Regions from separate parts of the Homo sapiens genome. Here region 1 is linked to region 2. The links are contacts of gene promoters, found by promoter capture Hi-C in blood cells and fetal thymus (Javierre and others, 2016). All regions are on one chromosome and are shown on one strand. Each heading gives the region's core, a stretch centred on a gene start or on the middle of the fragment in contact. The rest is flanking DNA. Distances are from core to core; before and after follow the strand shown. Region 1 overlaps BLTP1 (bridge-like lipid transfer protein family member 1). Region 2 holds the start of TRPC3 (transient receptor potential cation channel subfamily C member 3).

Evidence for each region. The method cuts DNA at HindIII sites, captures the fragments that hold promoters and counts their contacts. A CHiCAGO score of 5 or more calls a contact.
Region 1: a contact is called between a fragment that was not itself captured here and the fragment with the promoter of TRPC3 in region 2, in 3 of 17 cell types (naive CD8 T cells, naive CD4 T cells and non-activated CD4 T cells). The highest score is 5.6, in naive CD8 T cells.

Annotation. Positions count from the first base shown.
Region 1 is chr4:122,186,329-122,189,380 of GRCh38, reverse strand. It overlaps BLTP1 (bridge-like lipid transfer protein family member 1), which reads right to left. Exons shown (of 88, transcript NM_001384125.1): 8 at 1,869-1,950; 9 at 1,293-1,486. Among named protein-coding and RNA genes, the nearest start is that of BLTP1, 36 kb to the right of the region's middle. The HindIII fragment of the contact is 852 bases long and covers 1,357-2,208 here.
Region 2 is chr4:121,950,508-121,953,735 of GRCh38, reverse strand. TRPC3 (transient receptor potential cation channel subfamily C member 3) reads left to right here and starts at 1,676. Exons shown (of 12, transcript NM_001130698.2): 1 at 1,676-2,270. The coding sequence starts at 2,056. LOC102724158 (a long non-coding RNA gene) reads right to left here and starts at 2,754. Exons shown (of 3, transcript XR_427598.4): 1 at 2,667-2,754. RefSeq lists a silencer at 1,816-2,085. The HindIII fragment of the contact is 12,740 bases long and covers 1-3,228 here.

The DNA of each region.
Region 1 (3,052 bases), core at 533-3,032, 240 kb before region 2:
ATAATTTCCCAGAAACCATTAATCTTTGCTTGCTTTGATTAAACAACTTTTCTCTTTGTCATACATACATCACAATATCTTCTTGCATATCAAAATTAACTTCTCAATCATTAGATGATATTAAATGCAAAAACTTGCAATTTTTTTCTAAATATGTATTAAATCACAAAGCTTAATGTTTAATATCATCATGTAATCTCCACACTTAAGTGAAAAATACAATTTTAAATCTTTTTATACAAATTATTAATAGCAAGACACTTTTTCATCTTACTCTCTATAATTTTTCAAAAAAATCCTGATTTATTCAGTATTATACCTTCACTCATACACATTTGTGTGCACAGTCCACATTCCAGAAGATTCTTAACCAAGTCCATGATCTTGAAGAGTGAGGCCAGGAAGACCCACAGTCACCGCGATACTCAAAAAGGAAAAACCCTCTTTCTATCATTCTAGCCAAATCCTGGAAAATCGAATACCAGGCCAGCCAAGAGTTACAACTAAAAAGGAATAATCATGTTTCACATAAAACCTCATAAGGTACCTACACACAAAGATAAAAGCTGAGACACTGTACTGAAAACTCTCCATATGAACACTTAAATTCAACCAGAGTATCCTTTACACACACAAAAATTGAGAAAAAACATAAAAATCACAAGAGCCCATCTCCCACTCAGCATCCCATCACACTGAGTCTAGTGTACATCATTCCTATAATGAGTCTTATAAATACAAGCAGCTACTTCACTGAAGGAAAAAAAAAAAAATGGAAAGCTAGATGGAAAACTGACAGTTTGGAACTTAAAGAAATGTCAAGTGGGTCTCAAAACTATACCATCTTAACTTCACCAAATTTTCCAAGAGTAATTTCGATTCAATTTTCGACTTTCAATAACTCAAAGTGGTATTCCACTGCAATGAATCTGTTCAATTTACTCTTTAGTCACATCTTCTAGAAACAAAAACCTACCTGTAATGTGTATCTCCTAACATACAAACAGGAACTAATTGCACAAAGTAAGTTTCCAAAATACAATTAGAAGGAGAAAAGGATAAAAAAATTATAGTTATAATCATGCAGAAAAATATTTAAAATTAGAGTTTATCACTGGATAGCATATCCATTTATCCTATAAAGAAGGACTACATTGTTAACTGCTTTAATAGAGAAATATACCTAATTTTTGTACAACTTGTAGCAAAAAAAGTAAAAGGATGTTAAAGTTTCTAGCTGTATCTGTATTACCTATAAGAAGTTTTTTATTATTTTTATAAGATTTTCTTACTCATCATTTTGAAGACCAACATATCTTGGACTAGGAACAAGCATGACTCGAACATTTTCAAGCTTTCCTTTCACAATATGCATGAATTGGTCAAGATGACTTGAAGGTGGTTTTGTAGTATAAGTTAAGAAAGCATCATCAAAGTTGATGCACAGAGTTTGCGGCTGGTAGTGATTTCCAAAGGCCAAACGTCCCTAAAAAAAAAAAAATAAACAGATAAGAGATATTATATCATGCTATTCTGGCCATATTTCTTTCTTTAGCTAAACTAATAACAAACATTTTCAAACAACAGCTTAATGATTCCACTTTAGGACTATGTGCTATTTAAACTATTCCACTGGTCAATTTAAACCAGTAGTTAAAAGAAAATTTAAGTACTTAAAGAAATTTAAACACAAATTTATCAGAAAACAGTATTTTAAAATAATTATTTCACTCACACTATACAGAAATGGGAACTAAAAAAAACTCCACAAAACTATTTAATTTTCTTACATTAAAATCATATTTGCAAAAATTAAAAGTTCTACATTACTACCCCATGAAACAGTAATTGTAGCAGAATTTACTTACTGTGCTCACATTGACCTTTATGACTGGAATAAGTGATCTCCATGAAGATGTGGGGTCTTGGGATTCTGTTTTTACTTTAACTCTAACAAGAAAAAATAAAACTGACATGAATAAGAAAACCTTAAATACCTGAGGACATAGTTCACTTCCTCACAATACCATACCTCACAGTTTCAGTTTACCTTTCCAAATACATCTAGTGACTACTTCAGTAAACAGAACAATGATCATCTGAAGGAATACTAATATTCCTACAGCTGTCTACTGGAGCACTCTTATCATATCAACTTTTAGATGGATAAGCTATTATAACAAAACTATGTTTTTAGAATAACAAGCTTTAATGACAAAACTATAAGGGATGATATGCTGTCATTACATCTACCATTTTGCCCATTATGTTACTATACGACATTTTATAAGACAGCCAAAGTTATTATTAAACATAAATGATTAAGGTACAAGTCACTTTGATGTTTGTCTACTGTTTTAAGCACTTCTGAAAACAATCCAGTTGCTCCTCTTCCTTCCCTCACCCAAATGCCTTGTGCCAAATTAATTTTCCCTTAATGAAATGAAAATGATAAGCCAAGAGTAAGAAAACTGGCCATATACAAAGTACACAAATGTTAAGAAATCAAAATTTCACAGCAATTCACTAAACAGATAGATAATATATAAATAAATAGGTGTGGCTATGTCCCAATAAAACTCTATATACAAAACAGGCAGTGGGCTAGACTTGTGCTATAGTATAGGTCTAAGTTTGCTGATCCTGTTCCAGAATAATTTTGTAGGTAGACCTACATACACAGATATGTATTTTTAAAAGCAGACCTACATATACAGATATGGAACAATCTTACAGACAAACTGCTACATAAAAAGCAAATTACAGAACAATACACACTATATGAGGCACATATTCTAAACACATATGTTTAGAAACACACAGAACAAAATCATGTATTTTATAAGCACCTTAAATATGTATGTATACATTTATGTACATACATTCAAAAGGATAAAAACTAAATTGATAACATTAGTTATTAATACGGAGAAAAGTAGGATTTGTGTGCAAGGGAATAGAACGGGACTTTTTTAGATTACATATTCTATATTATCTCAATTTCTAAAATAATTATATAATTATTTATGTTACTAAAAGTTTCAGTTAATTT
Region 2 (3,228 bases), core at 427-2,926:
AAATAAATAAGATCCCACATCACCCTCAAGGGATTCATAGTTTAGAGGAAACAGGCACATACAGAGTGAATTTCAGTATGATGTGATCACTGGTAAGACTGTGGTATACACAGTGTGGGTAAGGACCAGAGCCTGTGGAAAATCCACTGGGACCCAAGAGGGCTGTCAGACTGGAGGCCACAGCTAACCTAGTTCTTTAAGGAAAAGTCAGTGTAGCAGATGAATGAAGAGAGACATTTCAGTGACAGGAATGCCATAGACAAAGGCAGAGAAATGGGAAAGTATCTAGCATGTCAGTTGATGACTGAGCGTTCAGGGTAACTGCAGTTAGAATGTGTATGAAAAAGGATGGGAGGAGAGATTGAAAACTTGGATTTTAACCTGAAAGTAGTGGGAAGCCACCAGAGATTTTTATAGAGAAAAGTCGTGATCAGACTTTGCTTTAAGCATGGTCTTTCCAGTAGTACAAAGAATGAAACAGTATGGGGAGAGGTGGGCTGCAGAAAGGCTGGATAGCAGGGAGAAGCAGGGGAGCCTGAATTGAGGCGGTGGTACCGGGTGGAGAAGGGCAGTCCTGCTTTAGAGATATTCCAGAGGTGAAACTGAATAGGTCTGCTAACCTACATTGTGAAACCGTTAACACTTGCATATGTACTAACAACTGAAAAGCACTTCCAAACATAAAGCACTATACAATATTTACTTGTTTTTGTTTTTCCTATATTAGATGTATAAATGCTATTGCTTCTTTCAACATATAGACTTGCCAATTTAATACACAATATTTTATTTACTTTTTAAGAATTAAATTCAAAGGAGCTACATTTTCTTGTGTTTTGCTTAAATTTGGGAAGAATTGTTCCTCTAAAAAGTACAGTATAATTGGATACAGTTAAATAAATTTTATCTCATCAGAGCGTGTCCAGTATTTTTGTGATTTTTCCTAGTTGGACTTGCTAGAAAGCCGTCTATTTGAAGCAAGGGAAAGTCTGGAAGAACACACTCTTCTGGATCTAATCTAAGTTTTCTCACTACCCACCTATCATGAGTACCTTTTTCAGTCTCTCTAGGCCAAGGGTTTCTTATTTAAAAGGACCAAGAGACTCCTTGATCCCTAAGATTCCTGCTAAGATTCTGTACCTCTTTCCTCCCAAAAGAATGACTGGTCTTGAATTCTAAAATGCAATTTTTGTGAGTGTGTTTTAAAAAGAAGACTGCATTTCGCTGAAAAATCTTCCTTGGAAAGTATATAAATCTTATTAGACGCCTTTGAGAGTCATTAAAAGAACTGAAGCATCATGCACGTTTAAAACATTACCAGGCTGGATGGAGTACGAAGGCACTCAGGGGAAGGTACTTAAACCTCCGTAGGTTCAACCAAGTCTTACCGGGAGTAACCCAACGAACAAGTGATGCTTTTTGAGACAAATTTGGAGAGTTGGCTGCAGGAAAATTAACAAGCCAGTGGATTTCCTTTTCCCTTCCTTAGGAAACTTGTTTCTGTAGATGCAAAAAGGGCCCTAGATCCTCTGGAAGAGAAAGAGAGTGGGGAGGGGAAGTTTCTCTTTCTTTACTCCCCACCTGCGGTCTGTCTGATTTCCTCTCCAGCTCTGTCTGATAAGGAATTGATTCTCCCCCTCCTCTTCCCCCTCCCGCCCTCCCTCTCCTTCTCCCTGAGTAACGATGCTGTCCTAGCAAGTGATGCTGTCGGAGACAGGAGACGGGCGCCGAGGAGGCATCGCCGCCGCCGCGGGGCTGGAGAGCCTCTCCCAGCACCAGAGCCCCGCTCGGCCCCGGGCTTCCTCGTCGCAGCCACGGCCGCGGCAGCTGCTCCCACGGTTTGATGGTGGGCGGCGGCAGCTCGGCTTCGGCGCTAGCCTCTAACTGCTGGATCGCGGGCCGCGACGCTCTCCGCTCCTGCCTTCCCGCCCTGGGCCGCCCGGGGCCCCGGAAGCCGCGGGAGGTGGTGAAGGGGCGCCGCGGGAAGACTGCACTGCCGCGAAGGCGGAGGAGGCCGGCAGCCGGCACCCCCACACTCGGACCGCAGCCGGCGCGATGTCCACCAAGGTCAGGAAGTGCAAAGAACAAGCAAGGGTGACCTTCCCGGCGCCGGAGGAGGAGGAAGACGAGGGCGAGGACGAGGGCGCGGAGCCGCAGCGCCGCCGCCGGGGCTGGAGGGGCGTCAACGGGGGGCTGGAGCCGCGCTCGGCGCCCTCGCAGCGGGAGCCGCACGGCTACTGCCCGCCGCCCTTCTCCCACGGGCCGGACCTGTGAGTACCGGGCCCGGCCGCGGCCCGCGCCTCGGAGGGCGGTGCCGGGCGGGGGGCGGGAAGGCGCGCGCCGGGCGGCTCCACGTCGAGCCCGGGACCTCCGAGACCCACATGGTACGGCCAGGCAGTTCGATTTGGAGTGATTTGGAGGGGACAGACCTCGGCCGGAGGCTCGCCCCCTCGGTCCCGCGCGGTGGAGGGACACAGGGGCTGCCGAGTGCGTGGCAGGGGCTCTGTCCAGGCTCAAGCACACGGAACAGCCCGCAGGCGGGCACACTGACTTCAGACAAGCATCCTGGCGAGCAGCCACTCCCTGTATTAGAGCCGAGGAGCTCGCACGACTGCTGCCAGGGCTGGGCACCCCTTGGAAGACGGACCCCGGGGTCCCGAGCTTACCCAGGGAGGCCGAGGAAGGGGAAGATGTGCACAGACCCAGGCGCGCACTTGAACCCTGAACTCCTCCCGGGCGTCCCAGCGTGGACTTGGGTCCCCTCCGACGCTCTGGGACGTCGGGGGCGGGGGCAGAGAAGTGGGGAGTAGGGAGGGGACAGTGCGATACAGGGTGTGGGTTGAAGGTTTGCCCAGGCGCCTCGTCTCTCTGTGGTTCAGTCACATTTGGGGTAAAACTGGAACCGAAGCCCTATAGGGTCCCCTGAGGGAGAGAGTGGGCATCGGGCAGCCGGGGAACCGCTTTAGTGATAACTTTGACTGCGGTTCCCAGGCGGTGCAGGGTCAGCGGCTCGCGCCCCGGCGCGCGGGCTCTCTTTTTCTCTTTCTTTCTTTCCCTCTCTCTCTTTCTAAACGAAGGAGCGGTCGGCGCGCTAATGCATGAGAAAGAGCAACTTTTCTTAATTTCCAATCTTGGAGACAGCTTTTAATCAGTGCGAGACGCAGAGAAGATAAAAAGAGGGTGATCGGTTTCACAGGGTGAGATGCTCTGTATTTTTTCTGTCACGTA